2 separate regions of the Homo sapiens genome follow, and region 2 is linked to region 1. Evidence: promoter capture Hi-C in human tissues and cell types (Jung and others, 2019). All regions are on one chromosome and are shown on one strand. The core of a region is centred on a gene start or on the middle of the fragment in contact, and the rest is flanking DNA. Distances in the headings are between cores, read along the strand shown.

The links. The method cuts DNA at HindIII sites, captures the fragments that hold promoters and counts their contacts. A contact is called where the count stands out against the background at its distance.
Region 2: a contact is called between a fragment that was not itself captured here and the fragment with the promoter of NEU3 in region 1, in 2 of the 25 tissues and cell types used here (liver and thymus).

Annotation. Positions count from the first base shown.
Region 1 is chr11:74,987,501-74,994,084 of GRCh38, forward strand. It overlaps NEU3 (neuraminidase 3), which reads left to right and starts at 1,433. Exons shown (of 3, transcript NM_006656.6): 1 at 1,433-1,654. The coding sequence starts at 1,561. RefSeq lists enhancers at 1,183-1,232, 1,513-1,702, 5,382-5,501. The HindIII fragment of the contact is 16,586 bases long and covers 1-1,573 here.
Region 2 is chr11:74,866,081-74,872,941 of GRCh38, forward strand. The region is part of intron 10 of XRRA1 (X-ray radiation resistance associated 1); the gene reads right to left. Among named protein-coding and RNA genes, the nearest start is that of XRRA1, 80 kb to the right of the region's middle. The HindIII fragment of the contact is 3,523 bases long and covers 1,520-5,042 here.

The sequences.
Region 1 (6,584 bases), core at 183-2,682:
GGGGACAAAATAGTATTTTAAGACCCATTATTGCCAGGCGCGGTGGCTCACGCCTGTAATCCCAGCACTTTGGTAGGCCGAGGCGGGCGGATCACGAGGTCAGGAGATCGAGATCATCCTGGCTAACATGGTGAAACCCCGTCTCTATAAAAAATACAAAAAATTAGCCGGGCGTGGTGGTGGGCGCCTGTAGTCCCAGCTACTCGGGAGGCTGAGGCAGGAGAATGGCGTGAACCCGGGAGGCGGAGCTTGCAGTGAGCCAAGATGACGCCACTGCACTCCAGCCTGGGCGGCAGAGACACACTCCATCTCAAAAAATAAAAATAAAAATAAAAAAGACCCATTATTTGGGCTTATTACGATGAGTTGGTCTCTGGTTCTAGGCCTTTTTTTTTTTCTTTTTTTTTTTTTTTTTTTTAGAAAAATACAGCAGGTTGTATTGAGGTTGGCACCTATGTTCTTTCAAAGAACCCTCATCATTTTGTGAGTTCTTTCCTTGTGGCACCACGATGTTCCAGGCTCATCTTGTATGTTCCCTGCCTCAGCACAGGATTTTTTTTAATGAGAAAAATATCACGAATTCAAATTTACAGAAGCTTTACATTTTTATGTCCTCTAAGTTAGCAGTCTGTCTTTCCTTTTATTGGCGTTTGTAAAATTTCTTCTTTTTAAAATTGTTATATTTTAGAGACAGGGTCTCGCTCTGTCACCCAGGCTGGAGTGCAGTGGTGCAATCACAGCTCACCACAGCCTCCAACTCCTGGGCTCAAGGCATCCTCCCACGTAGGCCTTCCAAAGCGCTGAGATTGTAGGCATAAGCCACCAGGCCCAGCCTATTACCTTTACGTTGTACTTAGTCCCAGATAAAAAATGACCTTAGATCAGTCCTTTCCTCTTTGGCTGGGGAGAGGGGGGCTTAAATTCCGGTACTGTGAAACAGAAGAATGGACTCAGTGCTATGTGACAAATCTATGTATGTAAATGTGTGTATATACACACACATAAATTATATATATGAATATATTTTCATTTTCATATTTTGCAAGGAGAGTAGCCAATGCTCTGGACCTCTGGTCCTTTTTGTAGGGTACCCTCTGAGGCCGGGAACCTTTGCTCAACTCTCAGGCTGTCCAGGGAAGCTTTAGGCGGTGATACCGAGCTACAGACCAATATAAGAGCTCGGGGCTGTGGCACTGAAGAGAGGAGGCGGCCGTTGGGAACTGAGGTGGGCCCAGGGCTTGAGCTGAGTTGGCGAGGGTGGAGGTGGTGCCGGTCCCACGCCGTGGTGGGGACCGAGCTGCGGGCTGGAGGGAGGGGCAGCGCCGAGGGGGCGGGACGGGGAGGGCTCGCGGAGTAGGCCAACGGTTGGCCCCAACCGCCACTGACTACAGCCTGCGCCCGCCTCTTTTCGTTGCCGTTACCTGTTTCCGGCAGTCGACACGCTCTTCGCTTCTCGGGGCTTGTCTCCGTGTCCTCCGTCTCAGTTGTTTCTCCCTCTCTATCCTCCTCTGTCTCAGTCTCCCCAGCCTTGGGGCCGGTGCCTCTTCCGGGCTTCGGCGAATGAGACCTGCGGACCTGCCCCCGCGCCCCATGGAAGAATCCCCGGCGTCCAGCTCTGCCCCGACAGAGACGGAGGAGCCGGGGTCCAGTGCAGGTGAGCGGGGTTGGGAGACAGGAGAGCTCCCCGAGGAGGACTCAACTGTGGGGACAGGTTGAGCAAGACCATCTGCGTTTGGGAAATCCAGCCTTGGATTATTGAGACAGAGCCACCTAGTCGGCTAGGATCTGACCTGGCCAGAGAATTCTTGGCTAGTCCTATTTTTATTCGTTCTCACAGAAGCCGAACTTAAACCTCAGAATTATCACTCCAGAGATGAAAGGGAACTGAGACTGGAAAAGCCCTGCTTACCAAAGGTCTCTGGGCGGCAGAAAGAGCCCTGAGCTTCAGTTTCAACTTAGGAGACCTGGGTCTTGGTCCAGATTTTACTGTGGAGTGGCGTTCAGTAAGCTTTGTCCCCATCCCGGGCCCGAGTTTTCCCATCTATACCATGAGAGGGTTTAGACTACAGATCTTCAAAGGTCTGGCACGTGGTAGGTGCTCCTTAAATATTACTTGTTAGGAGTGAATAAATGAGATAGGAAGGCCTCCTGGGATTCACTGGAGGCTCATTGGGTTAGTTGGAGGCTGTGGAATTACATTATTATAGTCTGAGAAGTAGGCGGTATTATCTCCATTTTATAAGTGAGGAAACTGAAGCTCAGAAGTAAAGTGACTTGCTAGTAAGTGTCAAAGATAAGTCAGACTTCAGAGTCCATGCTAGGCTATACTCTCTCCCAGTAAGAAAGCGGGAAGGACTTGATGGGAAAGTGATTATATCGAGCAGCAAGTAATCATTTGAATTCTCTGCTTAAATGAACCCCAGAGCAGGCCCATATCTGATTATTTTCTATCCCGTTTCCAGCACCTGATTTGTGTGAAACGTTTTGGGTGGCAATGCCAGAATCACCATCTATATTACTTCTGTCATCAACACGATCAGCATAATTACAAAAATTAATGGCTCTAATTGTTATAGTGATAATAAAGCATAAATGAAATTGTGAGGACATCAAAATTTATAATTAAAGACACCTATTAAAACAGCAGTTTAAAATTTATAAAACACTTTTGAGTGGTTCTTCATATTGATCTGCTTAGGTAGGTATTATTATCCATAGTTTACAAGCAAGGAATCCAAGACCTAGAGGTTGAGTAACCATCAAAACGTCATGCAGCAAGAAATGGAGCTGAGACTTGAATCCAGCCCATGTGACAAGTTGTGCTTCTCCTTTGGTGATTATTTCCCTATTTCCTCTCCATTTCCTTTTTTTTTTGAGATGGAGTCTTGCTGTGTCACCCAAGCTGGAGTGCAGTGGTGCAGTCTCGGCTCACTGCAACCTCCGTCTCCTGGTTTCAAGTGATTCTCCTGCCTCAGCCTCCCGAATAGCTGGGATTACAGGTGGATGCCACCATGCCTGGCCAATTTTTTTTGTATTTTTAGTAGAGATGGGGTGTCACCATGTTGGCCAGGGTGGTCTCGAACTCCTGACCTCAAGTGATCTGCCCACCTCAGCCTCCCAGAGTGGTGGGAATATAGGCATGAGCCACCGCACCCAGCCTCTTCCTTTCCTGTTCTGAGCCCTAACCCGCTCCATGCCTATCCTGTGCTCCATTCTTCTTATCACCTGGAGAATTCCTGTTTAGATTTAACTAATAGTCACATGTTGACTGATGATAGTAGTGTTGGTTTAACTTGTAATTAAGGTGTTAAGAGTTTAAAGTATGTTCTCTTTCAGCAATAAAGGGGGATTTAAATGTTTTTAAGAAAGGGAGTTGTAATTGTTATTATTGTCATTGTTATCCACAGGATTCAAGGAATAAAACTAGAATATACAGTAATTGGTAGTTTAAAAATAATAACTGTCATATATTGCACTCATACTATGTCATAGGCCTTGTAATAGCCACTGTAGTTAAGCATTTTATTTCTATCACCTACTCTGCTGAATTGTATAGGGGAGGATCCTGAAGCATAGAGAAGTTGAATAACATGCCCAAGGTCACATAGTCCTGGCCTGGTCCAAATCCTATGTTCTTAACCATTACACCAGCCTGGCTCAGAGACAGATTGTTTGCTTAGAACAAAGCCTGACCCTCCCGGGGAGGAGAGCCTGAATTGAGGGGAGAGAAGTATGCTCTAGTATTGAGTGAGAAGATGGTCTCCCCTTGCTTATCTTTTGATTCTGCTGTTGAGAGCCTGGGATTGAAATGAAGGGAGGCTTTTCTTCTGGACTCAGCAAGGCCACTCTCCCAGTTCCCCTCATGATACTGAGCAATAGTTCTTTTCCCTTCTTCAAGTTAGGAACAAGTGACTAAATATTCATATGCTATTGATAAAAGTTTGTCTTGGTTGACACTAGGAGGCTGTAGCCAAAAGCAGTGCAACTTTGCCGTATGGTTCACTGTCCTGAAAGCTTCCTGGAAGATTGGTCTAAAATCATCATGCCATTCCTCTGTCAAAAATTCTTGAGTGGTCTCCCATCTGTGGAATAAACACCTTAATAAGTTATCTAAGCCTCCCAGGATCTGGACTGTGCTGACCCCTTCAGTCCCACCTCTGCCCCCATCCCTTGCACTCCACCTTACTGTAGTCACACTAAACTACTGAGAGGCCCCAAAACTCACTGTTTTCTGTTGCCTATAGGCTTTTCACATCCTTGTCCTCTGCGCTTCTCCTTTTAACCCTCAGTTGGCTAATCCACTGTTCATTCTTTAAGATCTGGCTCACTGATTCATTCAATCATTCAACAAAAATTTGTTGAGTGCCTATTACTTAATAGGCATAGTTCTAGGTGTCAAGGCGGAGCAATAAGAAAACAGACATACCCTTGCTGTTTCTGGAGCTTCCATTTTGTGGTATGTATTAAACAAATGTAACATAGGAGGCATCAAAGTGTGATAAGTGGTGTGGAGAATAGAACAAGGAAAGAAGATAGGCTGGGGCAAAGGAGTTGACAGAGAAACCTTCCTGATTGGATGATGTTTGAGCAGAGCTGAAGAAGGTGAGGGAGCGTTATGTGGCTATCTGAAACGAGTGTTCCAGGCAGAGCCTGTGACTATATGAGGCAGGAGTTCTTTTGGCTCAATCATTCTCTCCAAAAATCCTTCTCTGGTGCCTTGATCTGGATAGATGCCACTTTTGTGTTTTTCTACTTGCTGTTGTGTTTACCTCTAAAGTAGCACTTATTACATCATGTTATAATTGTCCATGTATATGTCTGTTTCCCTCACTTGGATTGGGTTTCTTGAGAGCAGGAACCTCTGATCCTTCTCTGTCTTCTCAGCATCTATTTTAGGGCCTGACACAGAGGAGGAACCTAGAAATATTTATTGAATCAATTGTTCTTACAGCCTGATAATATTTACAAATGATTTGTAAAATTGGGTTTGGATGACAGTTGGTTTGAGGAAAAAGTAATTCTAAGGCTGCTTTTTGTCTGTCTGGCTTGATTCCCCTTTTGGACCTCTGAGAAGTGGAACACCTGGTTTTCTTTAAGAAGAATACTTGGAGACTCCATTGTGAGCATTATGGCAGGGTAGCCAACCTGTAAAATGGTGGGTAAAATATAACAAAGCCGGCCGGGCACGGTGGCTCATGCCTGTAATACCAGCACTTTGGGAGGCCAAGGTGGGTGGATCACCTGAGGTCAGGAGTTGGAGACCAGCCTGGCCAACATGGTGAAACCCGTCTCTGCTAAAAATACAAAAAATTAGCTGGGCGTGCTGGCGGGCGCTTGCAATCCCAGCTACTTGGGAGGCTGAAGCAGGGGAGTTGCTTGAACCCAGGAGGTGGAGGTTGCAGTGAGCCGAGCTCACACCATTGCACTCAAGCCTGGGCAACAAGAGCAAAACTCCGTCTCAAAAGAAAAAAAATAACAAAGCCCTTTATAGCTGAATTTGCAAGAAAGTAAGAGAAATCTCCAGGGACCTAGAAACCAAGAGTGAACTGAAAACCAGAGTGGTTAGCTCCTTAATCTGCCCTCAGCTGCACTGGATGTCTCACCTAGAAACTTGGACTTTAATAGGCCTGTTGTTATACCAAATGAAGCTATAGGTCCGCATGGGTTAGACTCTAGTGGGTTTTTTGTTGTCGTTGTTGGTGTTTTTTTGTTTTTGTTTTTGAGATGGAGTCTTGCTCCGTCTCCCAGGCTGGAGTGCAGTGGGGCAATCTCAGCTCACTGCAAGCTCTGCCTCCTGGGTTCACACCATTCTCCTGCCTCAGCCTCCTGAGTAGCTGGGACCACAGGTGCCTGCCAGCACACCCGGCTAATTTTTTTGTATTTTTAGTAGAGATGGGGTTTCACCATGTTAGCCAGGATGGTCTCGATCTCCTGACCTCGTGATCCGCCCACCTTGGCCTCCCAAAGTGCTGGGATTACAGGTGTGAGCCACCACGCCCGGCCTGGTTAGACTCTAGTTTTTGACAGAGGATGGCATGTGAAATACTCACATGAAGCTAGGTCCCTTGAAAATCTGCACCCTGTGTAGGGTGTATACCTTCTGATAGGGTGGACTAGTATCTTAATTCACTTTCTGTTGCTTATAACAGAATACGTGAAACTGGGTAACTTATAAAGAAAAGAAATTTCTTGCAGTTATGGAGTCCGAGAAATCCAAGGTCCAGAGGCCACATCTGGTGAGGGCTTTCTTGCTGGTGGGGACTCTGCAGAGTCTGGAGGTGGCATAGGGCATCACATGGCAAGGGGGCTGATTATGCTAGCTCAGATCTCTAGTTTTCCTCTTATAAAGCCCCTAATGCACTCCCATGATAACCCATTCATCCATTCATCCATTCATGAGGACAGAGCCCTTATAACCCTATCATCTCTTAGAGGCCCCACCTCTCAACACTGCCATATCAGGGATTAAGTTTCAACATGAGTTTTAGAGGGGACAAATATCAAACCAGATCTACTAGGAAAAAAAAAAATTCTCCCTACTGACACAGATAGAAGACAAAGAGATTGCCTTTTATCCTAGGCTT
Region 2 (6,861 bases), core at 2,031-4,530, 120 kb before region 1:
GGCACGGATATCATCACACTTCTACAAACATCAGGAATATTCAGGGAAATATGACGTCACCAAACAGACAAAATAAGATGCCAGAGATCAAACATAAAGTAATAGAGATGTGTGATCTCTCAGACAAAGAATTCAAAAGAACATTTTTTTGGGTTTTTTTATTTTTTTTGTTTTGTTTTGTGCTTTTTTTGGAGACAGGCTCTCATTCTGTCACCCAGGTTGGAGTACAGTGACATGAACATTGCTTACTGCAGCCTCAACCTCCTGGGCTCAAGCAATCCTCCCACCTCAGCCTCCCATGTAGCTGGGACCACAGGCATGCACCACCATGCCTGGTTAATGTTTTTATTTTTTTGTAGACATGGGAGACTCACTTTGTTGCCCAGGCTGGTCTTGAACTCCTGGGCTCAAGCAATCTTCCTACTTCAGCCTCCCAAAGTGCTGGGATTATAGGCATGAGTCACTATGCCCAGCCAAAACAGATGTTTTAAGGAAGCACAGTGAACTTCAAGAAAACACAGAGAATCAGTTCAGAAATTTACCAGAAAAATTTAACAAGGAGATTGAAATAATTAAAAAAAAAAAAAAATCAAAGAAATCCTGGAATTGAAAAATATAATGAATGAAATGAAAAAGTCAACAGAGAGTATCAACAGCAGAATTAATCAAACAGAGGAATCAGTGAGCTCAAAGATTATATGAAAATATACAGTCAGAGGAGAAAAAAGGAAGAAGAATGAAAAGGAATAAAAGCTTGCAGGATCTATGGGACAACATCAAAAAAGAAAATATTAGGGTTGCTAAAGTTAAAGAGGGATATGAGAAAGACAAAAGGGGTAGAAAGCTTATTCAAAGAATAACAGAAAACTTTCCAAATCTGGAGACTGGGTGGGTGTGCACGTACCCCACCATGCCATTACTGCCAGCATAAGCACACCCACTTCCACTGCCACTGCCAGCATGAACATTAAGCATGGACACCAGTGGCCCTGCACCCTGGCCCATCCAAAGGATGGCACCTTCAAAGATTGAAGGAATACCAGCCCACACAGATGAGAAAGAACCAGACAAGAACTCTGGCAAATCAAAAAGCCAGAGTGTCTTTTTACCTCCAAATGACCACACTAGTTCTCCAGCAATGGTTCTTAAACAGGTTGAAATGACAGAAATGGAATTCAGAATATGGATGGGAATGGAGATCACTGACATTCAGGAGAAAGTTGAAACCCAATACAAGGAATCTAAGGAATAAATAAAATAATATGGGAGATGAAAGATGAAATGGCCATGTTAAGAAAGAAGCAAAGTGAGCTGATACAGCTGAAAAGCTCACTTTAAGAATTTCAGAATACAACTGCAATGTTAACAGCAGAATCAACCAAGCTGAGGAAAGACTCAGAGCTGAAAGACTGGCTCTTCAAAATAACTCAGTCAGACCAAAATAAAAAAATAGTAAGGAAGAATGAGCAAAACCTCTGAGAAATATGGGATTATGTAAAGAGACCAAAAATATGACTCATTGGTATCCCTGAAATGCAAGGAGAGAAAGCAAGCAATTTGGAAAACACATTTCAGGTTATCATGCATGACAATTTCCCCAACTTTGCTATAGAGGCCAACATTCAAATTCAGGAAATGCAGAGAACCCCTGTGAAATACTACACAAGAAGACCATCCCCAAGAAACATAGTAATTGGATTCTCCAAGGTCAAAATGATAGAAATGTTAAAGGCAGCTAGAGAGAAAGGACAGGTCACCTACAAAAAAAAACCCATCAACTAACAAACAGCAGACCTTTCAGCACAAACCAGAGGAGAATGGGGGCCTATAGTCAATCTTTTTTTTTTTTTTTTTTTCTGAGACAGAGTCTTGCTCCCGTCATCCAGGCTGGAGTACAATGGTGCGATCTTGGTTCACTGCAACCTCCGCCTCCCAGGTTCAAGTGATTCTCATACCTCAGTCTCCCAAGTAACTGGGATTACAAGCATGCGTCACCGCACCTAATTTTTTGTATTTTTAGTAGAGACAGGGTTTCACCATATTGGCCAGTCTGCTCTTGAACTTCTGGCCTCAAGTGATCCACCTGCCTCAGCTTCCCAAAGTGCTAGGATTACAGGTATGAGCCACTGCGCTGGGCTCAACATTCTTAAAGAAAAGAATTTCCAACCAAGAATTTCATATCCAGCCAAGCTAAGCTTTGTAAGTGAAGGAGAAATAAGATCCTTTTCAGACATGCAAATGCTAAGGGATTTCATTACTATCCGACCAGATATGCCTTACAAGAGGTCTTGAAGGGAGTGCTAAACTTGGAAAGAAAAGACTGTTACCGGCCACTACAAAAACACACTTAAGTAAATAGACCATTAACACTATAAAGCAACCACATGAACAAGTCTGCATAATAATGAACAAATCCTCACATATCAATATTAACTTTGAATATAAATGAGCTAAATGGCACAGAGTGATCAGTTGAATAAAGAAGCAAGACCTGATGGTATGCTGTCTTCAAGAGACCCATCTCACATGTGATGACACCCATAGGCTGAAAGCAAACGGATGGAGAAAAATCTACCAAGCAAATGGAAAAGAGAAAAAAAGCAGGGGTTGTTGAAATTATTCTAAACTCAGACAAAACAGACATTAAACCAACAAAGATTAAAAAAAAAAAGACAAAGAAGGATATTATATAATGGTAAAGAGCTCAATTCAACAAGAACTATCCTAAATATATATGCATCCAACAGAGGAGACCCAGATTCAAAAAGCAAGTTGCTTTTAGAGACATATAAAGAGACTTGGATAAACATACGATAATTGTGCAGGACATGAATACCCCAATAATAATATTAGATCATTGAGGCAGAAAACTGACAAAGATATTAATGACCTGAACTCAATACTTGACCATATGGACCCAATTGACATCTACAGAACACTCCACCCCAAAACAACAGAATATACATTCTTCTCAGCTGCACATGGCACATATTCTAAAGTCAACCACACAATCAGATATAGAACAATCCTCAGTACAATTTTAAAAAAAAATGAAATCATACTAACCACACTCTTGGAGCACAGCACCATAAAATAGAAATACTAAGAAAATTGCTCAAAACCATATAATTACATTGAAATAAACCTGCTCCTGAATGACTTTTGGGTAAATAATGAAATTAAGGGAGAAATCAAGATATTCTTTGAAACTAAAGGAGAACAAAGAGGCAACATACTGATACAGGAGGTAGAAAGAAATTATTTAGGCAGATAGGGTAAAAGAGTCCTCAGCAAAGCTTCCCTTTTAGCAAGAAGCAGCCCAAGAAATTATTTTTTTCTAACAAAGAGCAGCCTGAAAAACTGAGCTGAAAACATAGATAAGCAAGCTGGAAGTTTGCATGGGGGAATGCCAGCAGTTGTGCCAATAGAAAAGGGCTACCTGGGAGCCAGGCATGTCCAACATGGAGGCTCCATCTTTTCTTTTTTTGTTAATATGTGTACAGTAAAGGGATGGGCAACATGGTGCAGGCCAGGCAGAGGACCTGCCTGCATATTAGAAGATTAGTATGGGGGCGACCATTTTTTTGTGCCCTATGCAAATGACAAACCTAGTTCTAATGAGTTTTTCATACCCTATGCAGATGGCACACCTGGTCCAACCAATCTTTCACACCCTATGTAAATCAGATACTGCCTCCTCATCAGGCACCTATAAGAGCCCCTGCATTTAACCACAGATCTGACAAGCCATTTCTCTGGGATCCCCCTCTCCAGCAGAAAGCTATTCTCTTTCACCTATTAAACTTCCACTCTTAACCTCACTCTTTGTGTGCCCAGGTCCTTGATTTCCTCAGCCATGAGACAACAAACCTCGGGTATCACCCCCAACAATGAGGCCACTTCATTGTGGGGCCCATCTGGGATCCAAGGTAGATTCATCAGAAGGGTGAGTATAGGAGCAGACCCCAAATCTTTACTTTCATTTTGGGGCCTTCTGCCCTCCATTTTAAAATAAAACCAAAAACATTCGGTGTCTGATGGCCACCTAGATGCCCTTAGGGAATGCCACCCATCTCAAGACTTAGACAACAGGCTTGCTCGGGAGAACTTAGTGAATCCCTCGGTACCCTCAGGGTGCTGGGAATGTTGACTGTGTTTCAAACCAGTTTCCTTTCATGGAGAGCCTAGCTATTGCATGGGGCTGGAAGAGGTCCAGAGGCAACTGATAGTTCCTGGCCAGGGCTACACCCAGGTGTTACCCGAAGGCTTCTGGATTAACCTCAGACTCTGACTGCCCACTGAGCATCAGTAACAGGATCTCCAAGCTTTTCCTATTGCATTTTTCCTTCTTTCCTGTCGACTGCCATGTCTCCTATCCCCTCTCTGTATGAAATGCTGTGGGAATTTTTACACTTCAGGGAAATAATCCTGTTAGATAGCATCAGCAAATGCCATAGTAACCAGGAATATAATGCAAAGGATTGCCATTTTTGTGATTTTCTAGGAATAGAAAGGATCTCCCTTTCCCTGGCAGTGAGCATCTCTCTCCCCGCTTGCTCTGGAGATCACATGGTATTTCAAGGTCTACAGCACCACCTAGTGGAATAGAAATCCTCTCCATGAGGTACCTTGTCAGCCCTTTGCCTAAACACTCTAGTTTTCCAATTCTCCTCCCCTTTTGTACTCCTCTACTAGAGGCCAGGCTTTATGCTCCTTCTGTGAATGGGAAAACTCAACAATGAGGAGGAAAATGCCCTCCAAAACCAAATTTTAGTTTTGATATTGTCCCATCAGCAGGAAAACCACCATTCAGTTCCTACATTCTTTTAAGGCACTTATTCTGCCTCTCATTAAAATGGTACTTAAATAGTAAGGGGATGTAATGTCTTAAAGTTAACCAGAACCACTGCCTAACAATAAATATTTTAGTCCAGGCCATAATAGCAGTATAGAGCTCAACCCAGTACACTCTCTCCATTAAAGGGCCTTGCAAATACAACTGTTATATAGTCTTTCCCAAGAGCCATCTATCAGGTAGCCACATAGATCACAGAAGTTAGGAAGTCAAAGGGAAATCACCAGTGGAGGATTAGAGTTGCATGGGTGAGTGTGACTAAATCCATCACTTAGCTTCTCTAGATCCATGCCTGAGGGACATGCCTGCATCCAAGAGTAGCACCTTTTAACAGATGCCGAGGCTCAGGGAACCAAGAAGGGAAAACAGTTGGGGGATGCTCCCATTGTCTTCCTGTCTACCTTGGGCCATTCTAAAGGAAGGAGGGGAATAAGGGACTCCTTGTCTCCCCTAGCTTTCTAGCCATCTTTAGCCTGCACCCCGCTCAAGTGCATTCTGAAGCACTGAGACTCCTTTAATCCTGAAACTGCTTTTGCACAAGGGCATGGCCTTCTTACTAGACCTTTGCATGCACTGGACAATCAACCAAGCTCTTTTAGCAGTCATATCAGGCAATCCAAAAGGTAATGATTCCCCAAAACTAAAAAAGCAACTTCAGGCAGCTATTGAGTGTCCCGGCTCTTCCTGTCCCCCTTATTTAGGGCCCCCTCCAACTGTGCCATCAGCTCCTCTAGTTCCACTATCTCCAAAATTCCCCACTCCCCCAGCTTCACTCTTACCCCTGCAGGAAATGACCAATGGAGGTGATGCCACTAGGGTTCAAGTTCCTGTCTCATTGCATGACCTTAGGCAAATAAAGGGATACTTAGGCTGATTTTCTGATGACTCCGATAGGTATAAAGAAGCTTTCCAAAATTTAACTCAGGTGTTTGACCTCTCATGGAGAGATGTTATGCTGCTCCTAAGCCAAACCCTAACCGCAGCTGAAAAGCAGGCAGCTCTGCATGCATCAGAGAAATTTGGAGACAAGCAGTATGTTTCTTACAGTAGGCCAAAAAGGAAAAGAGAAAATAGGGAAGGTGAAGAGATAGGGGAACCATCATTCCCAGTAGAGAAGAGAGGCAGTACCTCTTGACAACCCTGATTTGGAACCCTGATGACTCCACAAATGAATGGAAAAGGAAACACTTATTAATGTGCATATTGGAGGGCCTATAAAGAACTAGGAGAGCCAAACCTCTTCATTACTCTAAACTGTCCAAGATAAACCAAAAGCCAGATGAGAATCCTGCAGCCTTTATGGAAAGGCTGAGAGAAGCACTAATAAAACACACCTCCTTATCCCCTACTCAGTCAAGGGACAGCTAACCCTCAAGGACAAGTTTATTATACTGGCAGCTCCCAATATTAGAAGGAAACTGTAGAAGCAGGCTATAGGACCAGATAGCACCTTGAAAAACCACTTGAGGGTGGTTACCTTGGTCTTTCATAATAGGGACCAGAAGGCGGCCCTGGAGAAAGAGAGGAAACGCGAGAGAAGGCAGAGGCTCTAGTAGCTGCTTTGCAAACTTGCAAAGTCCAGGATCCCCAAGGTGTATCCATTAGTTGCTACCAGTGTGGCAAGTCAGGGCACTTTAAGAAGGAGTGCCCAGGCAGCAAGTAGAAGCCACCCCAACCATGTCCAGCCAGTGGTTGGGACCACTGGAGATCAGACTGCCCCTGGAGATGGAGGTCACTGGGTTCAGAACCAGTCTCACAGATGGTCCAACAGGACTGTTGGGTCCTGGGGTTCAGACCCCTGGCTCCAGCAGCTGAAACTGTCATTACTGCACAGGAGCCCCAGGTGATTCTGAAAATTGAAGGAAGGAAGGAAGGTGGACCTTCTTCTAGACATTGGAACCAGCATCCCTCTTCTCCCTAATCCCCTTTTCCCATAGCATGACCATGATGGGCATCTCAGGTAAAGTTCTAACCTGATATTTTTCTCAACCCCTTAGTTGTAGTTG